Linked DNA regions of Homo sapiens: region 1 is linked to region 2. Evidence: promoter capture Hi-C in human tissues and cell types (Jung and others, 2019). All regions are on one chromosome and are shown on one strand. The core of a region is centred on a gene start or on the middle of the fragment in contact, and the rest is flanking DNA. Distances in the headings are between cores, read along the strand shown.

Region 1 (5,679 bases), core at 2,090-4,589, 110 kb before region 2:
TGACTTTTCTCTGCAAAAAAAAAAAATGCATTTTACATCTTTATCTTCTCTACCATGTGCAAAAGTACCAATCATTTCTTTTTTTTTCTTTTTTTTTTTTTTTTGAGATGGAGTCTCGCTGTGTCACCCAGGCTGGAGTGCAGTGGCACAATCTCAGCTCACTGCAAGCTCCGCCTCCCGGGTTCACACCATTCTCCTGCCTCAGCCTCCGGAGTAGCTGGGACTACAGGTGCCCGCCACCACGCCCAGCTAATTTTTTGTACTTTTAGTAGAGACGGGGTTTCACTGTGTTAGCCAGGATGGTCTCGATCTCCTGACCTCGTGATCCGCCTGCCTTGGCCTCCCAAAGTGCTGAGATTACAGGCGTGAGCCACCGTGCCTGGCCCTAATCATTTCTTTGTATATTTTTTTTAAATTAAAGAGATAGGCAAATATTTAATCTCTAGATAATATAAAGCTATCTAAGATAAAACAATGAAAGAAATCATTAAAGGAACACAATTATAGGAAAAACATTGCCTGTAACCATCACTGCTGGTTTCCCACAAGTTTTTTTAAAGAATGGGATTCTGGGAGAGGAATCACTGGGTCAAAGGATATATCCATTTTTTATGGTCTTGCTACATATTGCACTGCTTTAGATACTATTTTGTGTTTAATGATAATTTCTTTGGTATAAAATGAAAGGTAGTGTTAATTACTTTTATTACAGATTTCTATGGATTTTATTACTATTGATATTTGTATTCTTATGTAAATAACCTATTTATTCAACAAATATCTATTGAGTACTATTCTTAGCACTGGGACTACAGCAATAAGCACAGCAGGCAAAGTGTTTTTGAGGAGCTTATATTCTAATGGGGAGACAATAAAGGAAGAAGGGAGGGGGGGACAGAAGGGAAAGGAAAGGAGGCAGGAAGGGAGGAAATGAATATAACACAGTGATAGGTGCGGTGTGGAAAAATAAAGCAGCATAAGAGAATGACATTAGTTAACAGGAGTGTGATTTTACAGGGAGGGCTTCTCCTTTAATGAGACTTTTGAGCAAATACTCAAAGTGATGGGCCACATGGGAGAACATTGAGGACATAGGGAACAGCAGGTGCGAAGGCCCTGAGGTAGGAGATTGTGTGGCATTGTTTGAAGGGGAGTGTGCTAGCAGATACGAAGATTTCTGTAAACCTTACGTTTCAGTCCTTCTGTAAAAAGATCTATTTGTACTATCATTTTTTAAATTTCTGTGAGCCACTCATTGTCTGAATGTTCTTCTTAAATAGCAGTCTTTCTAACGCATACACTAACTTCACTCATCTGTTTGGGAGTATTTCATTGTTTTTGTTTCTGGTTTTCTGGTATGTATGTGCAGCAGTTTTTTCCTTGCTCCCTAGATTATTTTATTGATGCCATTTTCATTGCTTATTGTCATTCTGGTGGGTTTTCTGGAAGCAGCAGAAGCAAACACATATATTTTGATACTGTGTTTTCATCTCCCACTTCTTTACCCCATTCGTGCTTCCCTACTGGGTTAGAACCTAAAGGTTTTTCTTTCTTTTTTTTTTTTTTTTTTTTTTTGAGATGGAGTCAGGCTGGAGTGCAGTGGTGCAGTCTTGGCTCACTGCAACCTCCGCCTTCCAGGTTCAAGCAATTCTTCTGCCTCAGCCTCCTGAGTAGCTGGGACTACAGGTGCACACTGCCGTGCCCGGCTAATTTTTTGCATTTTAGTAGAGACAGGGTTTCACTGTGTTGTCCAGGCTGGTCTCAAACTCCTGAGCTCAGGCAGTCTGCCCACCTCAGCCTCCCAAAGTGCTAGGATTATAGGCGTGAGCCATGGCACCCAGCTCACTTGTTTTTTTTTTTACTGCATGTGACACTGTATTTTGCTCATCATTTTCCATGTCTGTCTGTCTTTAGCCGGGCATGGTTGCGTGCACCTGTAATCCCAGCTACTCGGGAGGCTGAGGTGCAAGAATCACTTCAACCCGGGAGGCTGAGGTTGCGGTAAGCTGAGATTGTGCCACTGCACTCCAGCCTGGGCAGCGGAGCAATACCCACTAATATGTAGGCTCACCGAATTGTCATTGAACATGTTTTTCTTTACATTCCCTGACTATGACATTGCTTGCTGGAGTAAGTACTTAAATATTTGTTGAGTGAATATTTAATGACATCAATTAGAATTTTCATAAATCTGGTGAAAATATAAATTTGAATTTATGAAATTCATATCAATACAGATTGGATAATTATTGGGATGAATGAATGAGTGGGCAGGGCAAAACAGCAAAGGTGGGACCCTCAGGACAATAACATAGTGAGGGGGCCAAGGATGCTCTGGTGAAGGTGAGTGGTCCAAGGAGGAGGAGAGGGCCCAGCAGGAGAACATGGTCGAAGGGAGAGAGGAGAGTCAAGGTAGAGTATGACAGTGCCAAGTAGGGAATGAAAATGCCTGTTGGATTTGGTGATGAGGGAGTGGCCTGGGACCCAGGGAAGAGCCCATTTAGTGCTGAGAGAAATACGCTGTGGGCAGAAAAGTGAAGAGGAAGCAAGCAAGTGAAGACTTTTAAGTACAGACTGTCGTTTCAACAAGGCCAGCTTCTAAGGAAAAGGAAGAAAGAGTAAGAACTCAGAAGAAGCCTGTGGTTTGTTTTTTAACAAGGAAAAGACTTGAGTGTATCTGAAAGAGCAGAGAGGTGTCCATTGCAGTGGGAGAAACTAAAGATAGGCGAAAGTTGAATGGAAAGGAGCCCATAGAACATGATGATTTGCAAACTCCAGATCTTGTTCTTTCCAGATTTTCTTGGATATTGCTGTCAGATTAATCTGACATTTAGTCCTCTCATTATCCTGTCCCAGTCAAGGGGAGAAAGTATTGACTGAGTGCTGTGCTCAGCTCTTCCACAGCCAGCATCTCACTTACTTGACACAAAACATCTATAGGTAAGTACTGGTACTCCTCTTACGGTGGAAGACATTGGCTCTGAAAGGTGAAATAACATGTCAGAATCTGAACACATATCTTTTGTTTTGTTGGTTTTTTACTTTGAGTTTAATGGTAATTCTCGCTTTCTTCCCTTGCCCTGCTGTGTTGTTATTTCCTAGTATATTTAGTAAAACTAGAAACTTCTGTATCCTGGCCTAATTTTCTTTTCAGCATCATTTCTTTTCTCTGTACTAAAGCTTTGTACAGTTGAAAGCATTGTTAGATTTTTGCTCCTGTTTTACAAAAGATGAATAGAAACTGCAAATCCAGAAGTGCTGTCCCTGGTGCCAGTATTTTCATTGTAAACTGACTAATTTTGAGAAAAGATAGAAATTTTTAGTAATGTGGAAAGCAGTGTCTTTTAGCCTCTCATCAATAGCAATTAGATTTAAATCATTTAATCATATTCAGTTATGAAGGAGATAAAAATTAAGAACATGAATAAAGTACTATCAAAGATTATGTGTAAAAATACAGTTGGGGATTCTATAATCTTTTTAGCTCTCCAGGAAGCCACCCTAACCATCCCTAAACATAGGAGCCTGCTGTCTGTGTTTCACACATGATTTTTAAAAATGTGGCCGGGCGTCGTGGCTCACACCTGTAATCCCAGCATTTTGGGAGGCTGAGGCGGGCAGATCTCTTGAGGTCAAGAGTTCGAGACCAGTCTGGCCAACATGGTGAAACCCCGTCTCTACTAAAAATACAAAAATTAGCCAGGTATGGTGGCACGTACCTATAATTCCAGCTACTCAGGAGGCTGAAGCGTGAGAATCACTTGAACCCGGGAGGTGGAAGTTGCAGTAAGCCGAGATCATGCCACTGCACTCCAGCCTGGGCAACAGAGCAAGACTCCATCTCAAAAAAAAAAAAAATTTTCAGAGATGTACTGGATAACTACTTCTGCATATATGTATGTCTGTCCATGTAAATATATGTGTACATATATAGAGAAACATACACAGAGAATTTATATAGTTAAGAGTCTCTATCTGCCTGCATGCTCACATGAGCCTCACTGATGTTTAATACGTACACATATCTTTGCTTTCGTTACTAGGAAAACTGATCTAAAATACTATAATGAATGTAGAAGTATTCAAAAAGTTCATTCTTCCTTAAATAAGACAGGCCCACTGCTGCCTCAGGGCCTTAGCACTGGCTGTTACCCTGTCTGGGAAGCTTTCCCTTAGATAGTCCTATGACTTCCTCTCTTAGTCCCTTAAAGTCTTGGTTTAAATGTCACCTTTTCAGTGAGGCCTTTTCTTATGACCCACTTTAAAATTGCAGACGTTTTCTCTCACCCATCATGTTCCCTATATCCATTTAAATGCTTTTATTGTTTTTCTGTAAGGTATACCACTTACTTATTGTCTCCCTTTCTCTTGCTAAAATATGTTTCATAAGGGCAGACATTTTTTCTGTTTATTGCTATATCCTGAGCACCCAGAACAGTACCTGGCTTGATAAGTATTTATTGAATGAATGATTTATCGTGTTCATAAAACCAGTTTGACTGCTATATGGAGAGAATGCATTGTAGGGTAGCAAGAGTTTAAATAGAAAATCCAGACAGGTGGGTATAGAAATAGTCTAGTTGGGTGTTAGGAGTAGCTAACTGTTACCCAGAGGATGGAAGAAATATAAAAGGAGAAAATAAATAAATCAACTTGCCCTTTTCAAGAAGCATGGGACCTGCTTGCTGCCCAGTCCCATCCCACACACCCATACTGTGCAAGCTCCCAGCCTCTGCTATGGCTTGTGCCAGCCGTGTGTACTAAGGGGTCTGTGACAGACCAGACACCTTGGTCTGGAGACTCTAGTTCATGTCCTGGTGAGTATCAGAGTTATATAAATCCTATAAGTTAACGAGTGAAGGCAGAAAAAGCATTCCAAGCCGTTAAGGGAGTATTGAGTATTTCCAGTATTATTACTCAAAAGTCTTGTTTAGGAAAAAAGGAAAGGCAGAGAGAACTGTATGTTGCTTAATGTAAAATAGTAATGATGGTAATGATAACAGCTAATAATCACTGGATCCTTATTACATCCAAGCATAATGCTTTGTGCTTTATAAAGTCCTTATTTAATGAGATAGTAAAATGTCAAGGATCTGAAACATTGTTTAATCCTGGAAGAGCTACAGTTTCTGACCTATACTGCTCAGGCTCCAAGCCCACAATACTCCATCAATTCTGAGTAAAGCCCCCCTAACCGTTTTTCATTTTGTAGGTAGACAGTTATATAATCTGGGAAAAATTAAAAATTTCCCCCCATCTCAGTGGCCATATTGGTCACACTTCTGGAATAACATTAAATAGTAGTAGTAATAGTAAGCACCTTTTCCTTGGTTCTGTTATTAGAGAGAATTCTTCTAGGGCTTTATTTGTATTCTTGGTGCAATGCTAATATTTTTGTTTTTGAACACGAATGGATGAAGGATACCAGTTGAATACTTCTGAACCATCTATCAGGTTGATCATATGACCTATGACCTATTAATATGATAGTAATAGATTCTTAATAGTGAACCATTCTTTATTTCCTGGATAAATCCTTCTTCGTGCTAGTTATACTCTTGATGTCTAAGTAACCAGCATTGTTTAAAAACATTAAGAGTTCTGGCTCTGATATTACAATGACTTAACAGGGTGGGTCTGCTGGTGACAAATTCTCTTAGTTTTCTTTCATATGAGAAT
Region 2 (5,495 bases), core at 1,165-3,664:
TCTTCTAGAACCCGTGTTGCTGAGAAGCCTGATGTCAGCTGCACTTTCTTTGGTTCGTCTAGAGTAGTGGACTTTCTTGGTTACCTAATATCCTCTCGCCTTCCTAATTCTCAACAGAACCTAGATTTTGTTTACATATCCACATCACATCCAGCTCCTGAGGATCAGGGTGGAGAAAAGGAAGAAACGTGTTTGTTTGTTTTTTTCTGAGAGTGTCGCTCTGTCCCCCAGGCTGGAGTGCAGTGGCGCGATCTCAGCTCACTGCAACCTCCGCCTCCCGGGTTCAAGCAACTGCCCTGCCTCAGCCTCCCAAATAGCTGGGATTACAGGCTTGAGCCACCACCCCCGGCCAAAACCTGGTTTTTGCTGACATCATAGAACCACCGATTCTTCTCTAGCCGGAGTCTGCCCCAGTGATTTCTTGCTATTCCTTATTCATTTCAGCCAACTTGAGCAGTTCCATCTTCTGTGACTTGTAGCAAATAACACATGCCAACCTTTTATTCCGTCTTTTCTGGCCACTTTTAGGGGTTCCTATTTATCCTCAGAGTTGTGATATTTCATCGAGGATGTATTTTTTATGGGCCATCCCTACCCTAGCTCATTCATTATGCCAAACTCCCTACATTTTATTTACTCTGAAGACTCAGGGCTTCCTCAGCTTGAATGTGTTTTCTGCTATATCTCTATCACTATTTCTGTATGTAATCAATCTGTTATTATTCCCCCTCCCCATTTTCTCTGCTTTCTTCTGAATCTTTTTATTAGATTTTGGGTATCAGAGCACTTGTCTCCTGCATGTCTTCCAAATGTTTCCTCAATTTCTGGTGTTCTGATGGTATTTTTCTAGAGTTGCATTAGATTTGCTCCTTTGAAAATTATATGTGTTTGGGGTTACTTTGAAGAATATGAAGAGAAAAAGGGAGGTAATCATGGGTACTCAGTCTGGCACCTTTTACTTTGTAAATCTCAATGCTATGTTGTTTTGTCAATAATGGTCTATAACTGTCATATCTTTATTATTATTATTTTAAAATAATAATTAAATATAGAAATAACATATGGTCCAGAAATGGAATTGCCCATGTGTTAATTCTACATTTAATTTTTTTTTGAGGAACTGCCATACCGTTTTCCAGCGCAGCGCTACCATTTTACATTCCCACCATTAAGGCACAAGGATTGTTTTCTGGTTTTCTTTTTTTTCCAAATTTTATAATAGCCAACCTAATGAGTGTGAAATCGCAGTGGATGTTTGATCTGCTTTGATCTGCATTCCCCTAATGATTAGTGATGTGCATTATTATCTTTTAACAATATAAAACATCCATTTTGTTCGATTTAATTATTTTTACATTGCAATAATCTTTGTATTGTTGTAACATCGTGATCCAAGATTTCTTTTTCATATTATCTACCTGATATCTCTTAGTCCCTCTCTGCATTTTCTATCTTCAAGTACCCTTTGTGTTTAGGTTTGTCTCTGTAAACGCTAATGTTTGATATTTTAAAAATCAACACTTTCTGAGCACATAGTATTTGGCGTGTACAGTGCCGGTCACCGAGGATGCAGTTGTGATGATAGCGCTGGGAGTTGGGCTTTATTTTACGTTTTAAAGAAGTCACTTCAAAAGAAGTGAGTGCCATGAAGAGGGAAATACTAGGCTTATGCTTTTGTTTTACTCTGAGTGCCAGTAAATATGTAAAGATTACAAAAATTTATTTATTTATTTATTTATTTATTTGAGACAGAGTCTTGCTCTGTCACCCAGGCTGGAGTGCAATGGCGCGATCTGAGCTCACCGCAACCTTCGCCTCCCAGGTTCAAGCGATTCTCCTGCCTCAGCCTCCCGAATAGCTGGGATTACAGGCATGTGCCACCACGCCCGACTAATTTTTCGTGTTTTCGTAGAGACAGGGTTGCACCATGTTGGCCAAGATGGTCTCGGTCTCCTGACCTTGTGATCCGCCCACCTCGGCCTCCCAAAGTGCTGCGATTACAGGCATAAGCCACCGCGCCCGGCCGAGATTATAAAATTTAGACATAATTCATTTTTAATTAAAATCGCAGAATGGACTGTAATAGTTCTGTCACCACCTGCGAATAATCAGCAGCGGCTAGTCTTCCAGATTTAAAAATTCATACTCACTTTTCCGTCTTACTATTTTTGTCATTCTAATTACGAATACAATGGGTGGTTTAGCGGAGGGAGAGTAGTTGGAGCCCAAGCTGAGGGACTCGGCTTCAGCCTTCTCGAACTCCACAGCCCGACCGCGTTCTCCGCTCTCGGCGCTGTGGTTCTCTCTCGGACACCGTAAGTGGTGGTGCCGCAGCGACGTCTGGGAAATGAAGTCCGGAGGGACAAACGCTGCGGTTCAGCCAGGGAAACCCGTCGGCTCTCCGGCGCGCAGGCGCAGTTGCGCCCGGCAGCGACGGGAAACGTCTCTGAATTAGGTGTTCCGCTCGCCTCTTGTGCGGTGTGGAGCTGCGCGCCCCCCGCCGAGGCGGGCCCAGGTACAGGCTGCCGGTGAGGGCGGGCCCGGGGCGTGCGGCTGCCGCGGCGGGACCAGGACGAGGGCTGGCCTCTGCGCGTGTCTGCCGAGTCCCCGGCTCCGGGCGTCCGAGCCGGGGCGGCCTCGGCAGGTGAACCCGGCCCCGGAGGGGGCGTGGCCTGGGAAGGGCCTGGCGGAGGCCGGGAGGGCGCTTCGACGCCGCTGGACTCCTGGGCCGCAGCCTGGGCCGGACTCCGGGGGAAACGGCTCCAGAACAGAAACTGCAAAATGCCGCCTCGGTTCAGGGTCCGGAGCCCTCCGGGCGGTTTTTCGCTCTTAGTGTTTGTGGGTTTAAGCCTCCCCCTACTCCGTTTCCCGGAGTTTAAACTTTAGATTTACTCGTTTTTGGCAGTCTTGCACGTTTGGCAGTGTTTTCCTACAGCCAGTCCTAGAGTGATTTAACTATTTCTTTTTTTATTTACCGTAACCATGTCCACTTGCTACGTTTCTTCCCATTTCTCTAAATTTTAAATCAATTTCTAGCTAGTGATGCTGTTTTCTTGCGCCCTTGTTTTTTTGGGGCCAGGGAGAATGGGTAACGCTACCTTTAAGCAGCTTTGATAACTGTTTTTGATAAAGGAAGTAAATCTTACAAGAGGAAGAAAAGAGGACTAATTTTTGGTTGGCTGTTCCTAAAAAAGAGCATCAGTTCTTCAACTGCTGTTTTTCGTATTGAACAACATCCAAGTGCAGATGTGTGGAATATTGTGTCATTTCCTATTACTTTATCTGAATGAGCCTTGCCTGATTCTGCCCTTGACCCTGTTAAGGCACGGCAGATGGTCTTCATCCCTTCGCTCCTTTCGTCTTTATCGTAAAGCACTGGCAGAAAGGTAGCAGGCCCGGTGACTCTGAACCTGCTTCCCACACTGGTTTAAGTGGCCGGACTTAGGGCCCCTCTGGCCTGGGCAGTTCCAGGCTCCTTCTCTGCAGGTGCTCAGCTTATGGCTTCTAACCTGGTCTGGCCTAATGAGGGTGGGCATGCAGGCTGGATGAAAAGACCTCACAGCTTTTTTCTCCATTCCAGGTGCCTTCTCCAAGAGAGGCAGCAGGGAGGGAGAAATGGCAAGGAGGTTGCTGCCAGCCCATGTACAGGTGAGTGAAGGCTTCTTTTTGCTTGAACTGCCTTCAGGGTCTAGACGTGGTAAACTTCTTCATCTGTTGTTGAGCTTCTCTACCCAGTGAAGCTCAGGGAAGGACCAGAGGGCTTGGTAGCTGAGAAACTCTGGAAGGAAGGTGTTTCCCTTGCCTCAGAGCCTGTCTCATGCTTTTTTTTTTTTTTCTTTCCCTTTTTTGAGACAGGGTCTCACTCTGTTACCCAGGCTGGAGTGCAGTGGCACGGACATGGCTCACTGCAGCCTCAACCTCCCTGGTAGCTGGGACTACAGGCATGTGTGCCACCACACCCAGCTAATTTTTGTATTTTTAGTAGAGACCAGGCTTCAACAAGTTGGCAAGGCTGGTCTTGAACTCCTGACCTCAAGCAATCTGCCCGCCTCAGCCTCCTAAAGTGTTGGGACTATGGGCGTGAGCCACCGCGCCCGGCCCCCAGTCTCATGCTTTTTGACAAAGAATTTAATGGGGCTCCAATGCCAGGCCACTGCCACTACCAGAGCTTTGTGAAAGATCCAGGTGTTTTTGCCCTGTGGAGGACAAAGACACGGAGGAGTTAAATAATTCCTTCCTAACACGGGGAATTTGAAAAAGAGAGGCCCTGTATTCCCAGGACCTTGGGAGGCCAAGGTGGGCAGATCACTTGAGGTCAGAAGTTCAAGACCAGCCTGACCAACATGGTGAAACCCGGTCTCTACTAAAAATACAGAAGTTAGCTAGGGATGGTGGTGCATGCCTATAGTCCCAACTGCTCTGGAGGCTGAGGCAGGAGAATCACTTGAACCCGGGAGGCAGGGGTTGAAGCGAGCGGAGATCATGCCACTGCACTCCAGCCTGCGTGACACAGCGAGACTCCGTCTCAAAAAAAAAAAAAGCCAGGTGTGGTGGGTCTGGTGGTGCGCTCCTGTAATCCCAGTTAGTCCGGAGGCTGAGGCAGGAGAATCACTTGAACCCGGAAGGTGGAGGTTGCAGTGAGCTGAGATTGTGCCATTGCACTCCAGCCTGGTGACAGAGCAAGACTCCATCTCAAAAAAAAAAAAAAAAAAACAAAGAAAGAAAAATATGTCTGAAGGAGATAAGCTTTGTACGCCTTTGTGATTCTGTACAGGATGCTCAATTCAGCATTTCTAGAGTATGAACAAAGTGCAAACAACCTAAACATCCAGTGCTAGGGGAGTTACATAAACTAGATCATCTGTACACTGAACTACTGGGCAGCATGTAAACAGTGGTGACCAGGATGCTGTTATTTGTATAATGTGATTTTATTTTTATTTAAATATAGAACCATATTTGCATGAAAATCACCTGAAGAGACATAGCAAAAAGTTAACTTTTTCTGGTGGTAGAAAGTTAGATGAGCACTTCTTGTTGTTTTGCTTATTGATCTTTTAGAATTTTCTAGTAAGCTTTTTTAAGATGATTCGTTTTGTTTTGTTTTTTAAGAGACAGGATCTTACTCTGTTGCCCAGGCTGGAGTGCAGTAGTGTGATCACACGTCACTGCAGCCTCGACCTCCTGGGCTCAGGCAAGCCTTTTGTCTCAGCCTTCTGAATAACCGGGACTACAGGCGCATGCCACCACACCCAATTAATTAAAAAAAAATTATTTTTTGCAGAGATGAGGTCTCTCTATGTTGCCCAGGCCGGTCTTGAACTTCTGGGCTCAAGTAATCCTCCTTTCTCGGCCTCCCAAAGTGCTGGGATTATAGGCGTAAGCCACTGTGCCCAGCCAAGAAGATGACTCTCAAGAAGGGGAGATGGCCCTAGTTCAGAGCAGTAACATGCCATCCAGTGAAGGAGGAGAGAGATAGAAGAACAGGAGCTTCT

What was found. The method cuts DNA at HindIII sites, captures the fragments that hold promoters and counts their contacts. A contact is called where the count stands out against the background at its distance.
Region 1: a contact is called between a fragment that was not itself captured here and the fragment with the promoter of ZNF879 in region 2, in 2 of the 25 tissues and cell types used here (aorta and dorsolateral prefrontal cortex).

The regions. Positions count from the first base shown.
Region 1 is chr5:178,913,771-178,919,449 of GRCh38, forward strand. ZFP2 (ZFP2 zinc finger protein) reads left to right here. Exons shown (of 5, transcript NM_030613.4): 4 at 2,795-2,940. Among named protein-coding and RNA genes, the nearest start is that of ZFP2, 21 kb to the left of the region's middle. The HindIII fragment of the contact is 3,776 bases long and covers 1,452-5,227 here.
Region 2 is chr5:179,021,390-179,026,884 of GRCh38, forward strand. It overlaps ZNF879 (zinc finger protein 879), which reads left to right and starts at 2,415. Exons shown (of 5, transcript NM_001136116.3): 1 at 2,415-2,515; 2 at 3,581-3,648. The coding sequence starts at 3,616. RefSeq lists an enhancer at 2,043-2,544. The HindIII fragment of the contact is 17,237 bases long and covers 1-4,910 here.